Linked DNA regions of Homo sapiens: all the other regions are linked to region 2. The links are contacts of gene promoters, found by promoter capture Hi-C in blood cells and fetal thymus (Javierre and others, 2016). All regions are on one chromosome and are shown on one strand. The core of a region is centred on a gene start or on the middle of the fragment in contact, and the rest is flanking DNA. Distances in the headings are between cores, read along the strand shown.

What was found. Contacts are between HindIII fragments. The CHiCAGO score rates a contact against its expected background, and 5 or more counts as called.
Region 1: a fragment that was not itself captured here is called in contact with the fragment with the promoter of TRMT10C in region 2 in 3 of 17 cell types (neutrophils, monocytes and total CD4 T cells); the score reaches 7.4 in neutrophils.
Region 3: a contact is called between a fragment that was not itself captured here and the fragment with the promoter of TRMT10C in region 2, in 1 of 17 cell types (total B cells). The highest score is 6.4, in total B cells.

Annotation. Positions count from the first base shown.
Region 1 is chr3:100,714,981-100,718,382 of GRCh38, forward strand. All of the region lies in intron 2 of TFG (trafficking from ER to golgi regulator), which reads left to right. Among named protein-coding and RNA genes, the nearest start is that of TFG, 7.2 kb to the left of the region's middle. The HindIII fragment of the contact is 5,880 bases long and covers 1-3,402 here.
Region 2 is chr3:101,560,058-101,563,604 of GRCh38, forward strand. It overlaps TRMT10C (tRNA methyltransferase 10C, mitochondrial RNase P subunit), which reads left to right and starts at 1,811. Exons shown (of 2, transcript NM_017819.4): 1 at 1,811-1,946. RefSeq lists enhancers at 1,797-1,866, 1,877-1,946. The HindIII fragment of the contact is 12,384 bases long and covers 1-2,926 here.
Region 3 is chr3:100,649,249-100,653,145 of GRCh38, forward strand. ADGRG7 (adhesion G protein-coupled receptor G7) reads left to right here. Exons shown (of 16, transcript NM_032787.3): 11 at 447-559. Among named protein-coding and RNA genes, the nearest start is that of ADGRG7, 42 kb to the left of the region's middle. RefSeq lists an enhancer at 1,738-1,787. The HindIII fragment of the contact is 1,867 bases long and covers 1,151-3,017 here.

The DNA of each region.
Region 1 (3,402 bases), core at 173-2,672, 850 kb before region 2:
GGTTACCAGTGTTTTTTACTGTGGAACTTACTTGCAGTGTATTTAATCTTGACCTCACTGTTTAGCACTGCTACCCACACCATCCTTGTTTTTAAATACTTTTACCTCTTAACATCTCTGACACTGCTTAACCTAGTTTTCTTATCACTAACAGTTTTTTCTCTGTCTGTGTTAGGGTTGGGCTTAAAGTAATGCCAGCAGATATAATAGAAATCTTAAAATCTGAGTGGTTTAATAGTTGAGAAATCTTTCAGGGATCCAGGTTGAAAGAAGCTGTTACCTTCAACACATGGCTTATAAGCTCACCATAGGCATTGACATTGGCAAGCAGATGAGTGAAGACAGAGTATGAAGAATCATATGGGAGATTTTACTCACTAGGCCTGATGGTGTTGTATGTCATTTCTGCCCTTATGACATTGGTCAGTACCCAGTTACATGGCTTTGCTAAGATGCAAATGGGTTGGGAAGTATAGTCCCTGGCTGAGCAGCCACTTAGCACAACTTATACTGTGGAGGAGAAGTGTAAATCACTGGTGATCAGTTAAATTGACCATCTAGCTAAAGGTATAATTCTCCTTTGTTTTTGTGATGTGTAGTCTAAGAATACCCAAAACAAATTTTTGAGAGTTGCCCATGTTAAGAAACAATAAAGGATAGTACTTTTTTCCTGTTTTCTTATGCTTATCATACATTGATTTGCACCTCTGTGACTTTGAAATGTGTGTCTTAATTTGATCAGTGAATTTTTTTTTTTTTTGAGACAGGGTCTCACTCTCATCCAGGCTACAGTGCAGTGGCATGATTATAGCTCATCATAACCTTTAACTCCTGTCCCCAGGCAATACTGCCAACCCGGCCTCCCAAAGGCATAAGCCACCATGCCCAGCCTACAATTCAGATTTTTAACTTTTTTTTTTTTTTAGCAAAGTCCCAAGAGTACTTTTTTTTTTAAATTTTGTTTTAATTGACAAATAATAATTGTACATATTTATGGGGTACATAGTAATGTTTCATTACATATAATGGGATTAGATCAGGGTAATTCGCATATCCATCACCTCAAATATTTATTTCTTTGGGTTAGAAACATTCAATATTCTCCTTCTAGCTATTTGAAATTATATAATATGTTATTGTTAACTGTAGTCATCCTATAGTGCTATAGAACACTGGAACTACTTCTATCTAGTTGTACTTTTGTGTCTTTTAATAAATCTCTCCCTATCCCTCTTTTCCCCTACCCTTTGCAGCCTCTACTGTCATCTGTTCTGCTTTTTACTTGTATAAGATCAACTTTTTTTAGCTTCCACATATGAGAGAGAGCATGTGGTATCTTTTTAACTTAATGTCTTCCAGTTCCATCCATGTTGCTGTGAATGACAGGACTTCATTCTTTTTTATGGCTGAATTGTATTCCATTGTGTATATATACCATATTTTCTTTATCAGTTAATCTGTTGTTAGACACTTAGGTTGATTCCATATCTTGACTATTGTGAATAGTGCTGCAGTAAAATGTGAGTGCAGATTTCTCTTCAATATACTGGTTTCCTTTCCTTTAGTTAAATATTCAGTAGTGGCATCGCTGAATTGTGTGTTAGTTCGATTTATAGTTTTTTGAGGAACCTTCATACTGTTCTCCCTAGTGGCTGTACTGTTGACATTCCTACCAATAATGTGTAAGAGTTCCCTTTTCTCTTCATTCTTGCCAGCATTTGTTATTTATCTTTTTGATAATAACCATCCTAACTGGGGTGAACCTTGTTGTGGTCTTCATTTTCCTGATATGTGTGCATTTCCCTGATGATTTGTGATTTTGAGCATTTTTTCATATATTTATTGACCATTTCTATGTCTTTTTTTGAGAAATGTCTGTTCAGATCATTTGCCGATTTTAAAATCGGATTGATTGTTTTTTAGCTGTTGAGATGTTTGAGTTCCTTCTATATTCTGAATATTCATCCTCTGCCAGATGAGTAGTTGTATTTCCTCCCATTCTGTAAGTTCTCTTTTCACTCTTGATTGTTTCCTTTGCTGTGCAGAAAAGTTTTCCAGTTTGAGATAATCATATTTATTTTTGCTTTTATTGACTGCACTTTTGAGGTCTTATTCATGAAATCTTTTCCCGACCTATTAAAGAGGTTATCCTTTTCCTAATGAGTGGTCTTGTCAAAAGTCAGTTGGCTATAGATAACATGGATTATGTTCTTTTGTTCTATGTGTTCTATTGATCTATGTGTTTGTTCTCTTGGTCAATGGGTCTGTTTTTATGTCAGTTCTGTTGGTCTGTGGGTCCGTTTTTGTGCCAGTCCATGCTTATTACAGCTTTGTAGTATATTTTGAGGTCAGTAAGTGTGACACCTTCAGCTTTGTTCTTTGCTCAGTATTGCTTTGACTGTCTGGGGTTGTATGTAGTTCTGTACAAATTTTATGGTTTGTTTTTAAATTTTTATGAATAATTTTATTGGTAGTTTGATAGGGATTGAATTGAATCTGTAAATTGCTTTGAGTAATTTTGTCATTTTAACAATATTTGTTCTTATATAAGCATGGGATGTCATTACATATGTATGCTCTTTGGTTTCTTTCATCAGTGTTTTTTTTTTTTTTTGTAGAGGTTTTTCATCTTCTTGGTTAAACTGCTTCCTAGATATTTAAAAAAATTTTTGTAGCTGTGGTTAATGGGATTGCATTTTTTATTTTTTATTGTATGTGTATAGAAACACTACTTATTTTTGTGTACTTATTTTGTTTCTGGCAGCTTTATTGAATTCATTTATTGGTTCTAAGGGTTTTGGTAGAGTTTTTAGGTTTTTGTTTATATAAGATTATGTCATCTGCAAACAGGGACAGTTTGCTTCCTTCCCAATTTGGATACCTTTTATTTTTTTCTCTTGCATAATTGCTCTGGCTAGTACTTGCTTAACTGTCTTTTTTTTATTTTTTATTTTTTTGTCTTGAGACAGGGTCTTGCTCTGTCTCCCAAGCTGGAGCGCAGTGGTGTGATCATGGCTCATTGAAGCCTTGAACTCCTGGGCTCAAGCAGTCCTTGCAACTCAGCCTCCCGTGTAGCTGGGACTGCAGGCATGTGCCACTGCACTCAGCTTCTTATTCTTAATGTTTATCAAAATGGGGGTCTCACTGTGTTGCCCAGGCTGGTCCTGAACTCCTGGGCTCAAGCGATCCTCCTGCCTTGGCCTGCCAAAGTACTGAGATTACAGGCATGAGCCAGTGTGCCTGGCCTTTAACTGCCTTTTTTCCCACTTGAAGATGCTTTGCCTTTATCTCAAACTGACCTCATTGACTGGCTTTCTCTTAACTACTGTTTAGGGCAAAGGTCAGCAAACATTTTCTTTAATAGATCAGAGAGAATAAATATTGTAGCTTTGTGGGTCACAT
Region 2 (3,547 bases), core at 561-3,060:
CAGACATATTGAATAAATTATGTTCTGCTATATTTATAGAAACACTTCCAAAGATTTTTCACATAAAGAATCTTAGTAAACTTAACAGAATGAAATTTCCTTTACTTGACAAAGATCATATAGCAAAAACCTTCATAAAATATTAATGGAAAAACTTCAGATGTATCTCTTTAAAGAACAGGAACAAGAAAAAATAACCTCTACACTGCTATTTGTTATAACTACTAGACGATATTTATTCTTGATTTTTTTCCATGTTTGGGAGTAAACTCATGATTATTTTGCTATCACCACCTCACCTTTCTAACATGATAGTAATCAGTCTCTTAGACAAGATCTCGTTTTTTAAAATCATTTGGAAAAGACTATGCCTACCTTCTTTTATTTTAGTAAACTATATACAATATAAACATTTCCATTTTAGTCATTTTCAAGTGTACAGTTCAATGGCATTAAGTACATTCACGTTCTTGTACAACCATCACTACTATCCATCTCCAGAACTTTTTCATCATCCCATACTGAAAATTCATACCTATTAAACAGTAACTGCCCATTCTTCCCTTTCCCCAGCCCCTGGTAAACACTATTCTACTTTCTTTCTTTATGATTTGACTATTCTAGGCACTTCATATAGGTGGACTTATACAATATTTGTCCTTTTGTGCCTGGCTTATCTCAGTGTATAATGCCTCCAAAGTTTATCCATGTTGTACCATGTATCAGAACTTCATTCCTTTTTAAGACTGAATAATATTCCATTGTATGTACATGCAACATTTTTTAATCTATTCATCTGTTCATGGATATTTGGGTTGCTTCCACCTTTTGGTTATTATCAATAATGCTACAATGACATTAGAGTACAAGTGTCTGTTTGTGTCTCTGCTTTCAATTTCTTTGGGTATATTACTAGGAGTAGAATGGCTGCAGAATATGTTCATTCTGTGTTTGGTTACAAATATATGTGGAGGCTGAATTGGCCCCAAAGGCCACCAATTTACAAATGTGTTTTAATTTCATTTCACATTAAACTTTCCAAATGAGCTAGGAGGAGACAGAAACTTACCGTGGCTTATCACGTTCCAAGCATAGTGCCAGGTACTGGTGATAAACTGGTCAAAAAGATTAGGAGTTTAAAGTCCTAGCGTCAAGGAGTTTGAAGCTGAGTAAGAAGACGTGTGAAAAAAACATACTTTATTTTAGTACTCTGTCAGCAAATGTTTATAAATACAGGGCCCAAACAGAGAGTAGGTTGAAAAGAGGATTAGAAACAGTTTTTTTTTTTTTTTTTTTTTTTTTTTGAGACAGAGAGTCTTGCTCTGTCGCCCAGGCTGGAGTGCAGTGGCGCGATCTCAGCTCACCGCAACCTCCGCCTCCCAGGTTCAAGCGATTCTCCTGCCTCAGCCTCCCGAGCAACTGGGATTACAGGCGCGCGCCACCACACCTGGCTAATTTTTGTATTTTTAGTAGAGACGGGGTTTCACTATGTTGGCCAGGCTGGTCTCAAACTCCTGACCCCAAGTGATCCGCCCGCCTCGGCCGCCCAAAGCACTGGGATAACAGGCGTAAGCCAACTGGCCCGGCCCAGAAGAAGTTTTTAGGATATATGGAGGAAAACACAACACAACACAGCTACAACTCCGTGACAACTGAGAGCGTAGTCTTCGAGTACCCAGTTGCCTACTGACAGCCGTCTCCTCTAAGGCGCTTCTTTTAGCCAAGAAAGCGTTCTTTGCGTGCTGTGACGTAAAAAGCAGCGCCGGAAGGGAGAGGGCGGAACTTCCGGCTGAGCCCCAGCGACCGCTCTGGTCGGCTGTGTAGACTGTTGGGTAGGCTGCGTGCTAGCTTCGGCGCGGATCCCTGGGCGTCCGTACGTCGGAGTCCTTCGTCCTCCAGGGTCCCTGTTCTTTGCGCCAGCGGGAACCACTATCTCTGCACTCCTGGTAAGCGAGTTTCTTCTTTCGCCTAATGTGTGTGTTGGGGGTGGGAGGACGCCGGAGACGTTCCAAGATGCACTTAGTGGAGCATGTGCGTTCGGAAGGCCCACGGGTAAGAGGAAGCCCAGTGATTTTAATAAACTATAACTAGTACAGTACCTGAAACAAAATCAGTGGTTCCTGAAATGATGTACTTGATTGCTTTTTACAATTGGGGTTTTCATTTCTGTGGTATTCTAAGTCCTTGCCAGTTACAAGAATAAAACTTTTAAAACTCCTTCTGAAATCAATGTTTATTAGATTGGGGCCTGGGGACCCCAGTTAAATATTTCCGGGATTCTAAAGTAAATTGTTTTCTCTTTAAAGGGAGGCTGAGCCGGGCGCGGTGGCTCACGCCTGTAATCCCAGCACAATGAGAGGCCGAGGTGGGCGGATCACGAGGTCAGGAGATCCGAGACCATCCTGGCTAACACAGTGAAACCCCGTCTGTACTAAAAATACAAAATAGCCGGGCGTGGTGGCGGGTGCCTGTAGTCCCAGCTACTCGGGAGGCTGAGGCAGGAGAATGGCGTGAACCCTGGGAGGCGGAGCTTGCGCCGAGATCGCGCCACTATACTCCAGCCTGGAGTGACAGAGCGAGACTCCGTCTCAAAAAAAATAATAAAGGGAGGCTGAACTTTTTTTTTCTTTTTTTTTTTTTTAATGAAGGAAGCATCGATCTAGGGTATTAGAAAAATATTTGCGTGATTACTGTGAGCCAAATACTGTCAAGCATTGGATTCAATGTTAACATTATAGACAAAGTCCTTGTCCTCATGGACACTAGTTAGTCCTTACCATCTAGTGAGGCAAATAGATAACCAGGCAATTACAGTGCAGTGTTAGAAGTACTGTCATAGGCACCAGAGTGCTGTGAAAAGTAATGGTGGAATACTTGAAGTGTGAGGTGAAGAATAGCTAGAGATGCTGCTGACCTGGCCGCAATAAGCTTAGAAATATATGTTGGGAACAATACCAATGGATAGCAATATCCCTTGAAACAGAACATTGAAGGAGGATCAGATTGTGAAGCAAAGGTAGAGGGGTTATTTCGATTTGTTGCGTTTGAGGTGTTTTTTGTTTGTTTTTGTTGTTTTGAGACAGTCTTACTCTGTCGCTCACTGCAACAGATTTTGTTGCAAAATCTCGGCTCACTGCAACTTCCGCCCCCCTTATTCAAGCGATTCTTCTACATCAGCCTCACGAGTACCTGGGAAGTAGAAGAATCGCCCCACTTCAGCCTCACGAGTACCTGGGATTACAGGCATGCGCCACCACACCTGGCTAATTTTTGTATTTTTAGTAGAGACAGGGTTTCGCCATGTTGGTCAGGCTGGTCTCAAACTCCTGACCTCAAGCGATCCTCCCTCCTCGGCCTTCCAAAGTGCTGGGATTACAGGAGTGAGCCACTGCACCCGGCCTGCATTTGAGATGTCTTTCTAATGCATGGTCATTGAAGCCACAGAAGTAGGTCACATCTCAGAAGGGAAATGTATAGATTGAAAAAAAAGAATAGGATAGAATGCGGAGTTACATCCACCTTTAAGGGAGGGGCATCTGGACATCAG
Region 3 (3,897 bases), core at 834-3,333, 910 kb before region 2:
TGCCCTCCACATTGGCAGGTTCTGCATCCATGAGGAAACGTAGATGGAAAATAACAGTATTTTCAGAGTGCAAAACTGGTATATGCAGGTCAGCTTTCCACATCAGCAGGTTGCACAGGACCAACTGCAGGACTTGAGTATCCATGGCTTTTGGCATCTGCAAGTTGTTCTGAAACCAGTCCCCCTGCAAATACCAAGACATGACTGTATATTTTTCCTTAACTGAATTAGTTAGATAATTATTCTCAAGCCTGTATACTTCAGGTAAACTGCTCAGCAATAAGGGGTTAATGTATTTCGCTTTTAAATATATCATGAGCTTTACAAAAGGAAGATATATCTGGCAACTGTCTGGTTATTTTGACCCATGTAACTCTGTGATGTTGACTTTCATTAACACTTCAGGGATGACTAATTAAAAATATGAGTCTTACCTTGTTTTTCAGACTTTCAAAAAGGATTATCAATATCCCAAATCACTTGACATATTATCCAACGTTGGATGTGCACTGTCTGTTACTGGTCTGGCTCTCACAGTTATATTTCAGATTGTCACCAGGTAAGAGCAGAAGCAGGCTCTTTTCAGAAGAGAAATTGCTATCTTGATATAATTTACTCTGAGAATTCTCATGAGTAGTGTCTTTGAACTAGGCAAGAACTCAGAGAGGTACTTATTTTACAGAGGAGGACATTTAGGCCTGGAAAGGCTAAGAAATACACACAAATAAATACGTAATTACAAATTGTGGCAAGTGCCTTGAAAGAAAATTATATGCCACTTATTTACAAGTTTGTCATGTAAAATTTATGTGGTCCTGCAGCTCATTAATGCTATAATTCCTCAGTGTTGAATAGAACCATGCCTAGCAATTTGTATTTGTTAAGGAAAGAGACATTGCAAACAGCAATTTTTTAAAAAAGTAATTTAAAAAATATATCAAGCTTTCAAATGGTGAAACGTTTTTCAAAAATATAGTTTTCAAATGGTGAAAGTTTTTGAATCCCATACATTAAATTCTAATTTTAAATAATGACCTATAAACAAATACTTCTCTCCACCTTGACCCCTTCATTTGAGGTCCAATTTTGTATCCCATTCATTATTTTTTGTCACATGCTACATTTTTTTAACTGCCTGCGGTCTTTTAGAAGCTTGTTCATTTATTAATTTACTCCGTTTACTGTGTGTTTCCTCTGTCAACTTCACATTTCATGTTTGTTTGGTCTTTCATGACATTGAAATTTTTCAAGCATCCAGGCCAGTTACTTTGAAAAATGTTCCACAATGAAGATTTGTCTGAAATTTTCCTCATGAAGAGATGCAGGTTAATTATTTTTGGTGGGAATACTGCAATCATGGAATTTTTTTTAGTGTGACACAACAAGAAGTGCGTATCAGTATGTCCCATTATTGTTGGCTGTAAGTTTGATTCCTCGTTTAAAGTGATGTCTGCCAGATTTCCACATTTTTTCCCTGTGTAAATAATAGATGACTCGTGGGGTGCCACTTTGAGGCTGCATGATATCCTGTTTCCCAAAAATCTTTTACTTAATGATCTTGTTACTCATCCTTACTGGAACAAATTATTACATTAAGTGGTTGAAAAATGGTGATTTTTCTAGGCTATCACTCTTTCTATATTTGTTTGCTATACTCTTTTGTAAAAAGCATACTTCCCAGTGTAGCCAGAGGGAGCCCCTTCATGTTGTTTTGCCACGTCTCAGTCTTTAGTCACTTCCTTATTTCAATCAAAAGCAAAATGATCATCTTTCACTTTCTCTGCCTCATACCTGAACCAGCCATTTCTCCAAAGAGCCAGAATTGTTTTCGATTCCTTTTCTTCCCCTTTTCACATTAAATGAGTCTCTTGCCATTCATTTAAAAGTTTTATAGTGAGTGCTTATGTTGTAAGGAGCTGAATACAAAACTATGAACAGACAGATAATCTCCCATCTCTCATGAAATATACACTGTTGGGGGGAAAAGGCAGACATTATAAAAATATCTACACAACTGAATATTACAAATTGTGGTAAGTGCCTTGAAGGAAAATTACATGTTTGTCATGTAAAATTAAATGCCTCTTAAATTTGTCTCATTATTTGTATTTCTACCATCACCACAGTTGTACTGACAATTATTTGGTCCCATAGGGATGAGTCATAGTTGCTGCATAACTAGTTTCTTTGCCAAAACCTCACTCTTTTCATTTGTCATCAGATTTTTTTCCTCTTTCATCAATATGTTTTCTAGCACAATTATGCAACCAAAGATACCACTAAAATTCATCAGGAAACAAAAATAAAAATAAACACCAGGCATGGAGGCTCACACCTATAATTCCAGCACTTTGGGAGGCCAAGGCAGGAGGATTGCTTGAGCCCAGGAGTTTGAGACAAGCCTGGGCAATACAGCAAGATCACATCTCAAACAAATTTTTTTTTTTAAAGAGAGAAAAAACAAAACAAAAATAAAGACAAAATTTTATTGATTTTAAAATCCTGAATTATAAAATTTTCTTTGTTCTTGGACAGGTTCCCATATAATAATAATGCACAGAATACAAACAGTCCCCTACTGACCATGGTTCAACTTACGATTTTTCAGCTTTAAGATGTTGCAAAAGTGATAGCATTCAGGATGTTTCTTGATTTATGATAGGGTTATGTCCCAATAAACCCATTGTAAATTGAAAATATGGTAAGGTGAAATGATATTTTTAGTTTTCGATGGGTTTGTTGTGATGCAATCTCATTGTAAGTTGAGGAGCATCTATATAGTAATAATCTATAAGAAGGGCCAGGCTATTTGAAAATCACCTCTTCTTCCTGTGGATTATAATTGATAAAATTAGATAAAAACTAGACTCTAATCTTACTTTTATATAAAAAGATTCTTCTGAGTACTTTTTGCAGTTCTGGTCATTAAACCTCTCAATAGATTTAATGAAATTTTGAATTGTCCAGAAATCTCAACTAAAATGTCAAGCAGATGGACTGAGTTCTGTTTGAATGAAAGCTTTTTTGTTCAGTGTGGGAATCCAAAGATCAAGCGAGGTCATGATGAAACATCGTAAAAACATAAAGAATACATAATGGGCAAATAGACTTCATCAAATTATGAGTTATTAAGAATAGAGAGGCATTTGAAGGTTAGAACTTTAGGCATAGTAATAAACCTGGGAAATGGTATTCCAAGAGGTCTTGCAGTCTGAAAAATCCAGAAGGCTTTAGATGGTAGTGAGTAGAGATTTTATAACTTTTATTGGCGAGGAACTGTCTGCCATAGTGTACATGAAAGTGTAACATGCCTTTAAGGGGATATAAGGATATATCTGCCTTTAAGCAATAAGGAAAATAATACATGTACAAAAAAGAATATCACATTTTACTTCTGAAATCAACTTTATTAAGAGAAATCTTGCATTCTCTGCCAATCTGAAGATATACATGTGGGCTAGCACAGAATATATACATGAACTACACACACCACACCATACATACACACACACCACACCATATACACACATACACACACACACACTCATACACATTCACTCATACTGCCTTCTGAAAATTGCTGGTAAACAAGGCCGGCCTGCAGACAAAATAAGAGAAACAGCTGCTCTTTTAGAGCAAAGACATTAGGTAAGCATGAGAAGGGAAAAAAAGGCAATTTTAAAGAGCACTTGGTTGTACACCCAGAAATTATATCTTCCAATAAAGGGATAGTCCTTCGGAATGATTTACATTCAAAATGTGGTTCAGGACATCTTGACCATCTGACAATCAGCAAGCATTTCCCAAAATGTGGTCCTTGAAACATTAGTCCAAGGGAGATTCTTGATGAAAATAAGGTTCTGAAAAGTCTTGCAGAAAAGATATGTGAAATATTGT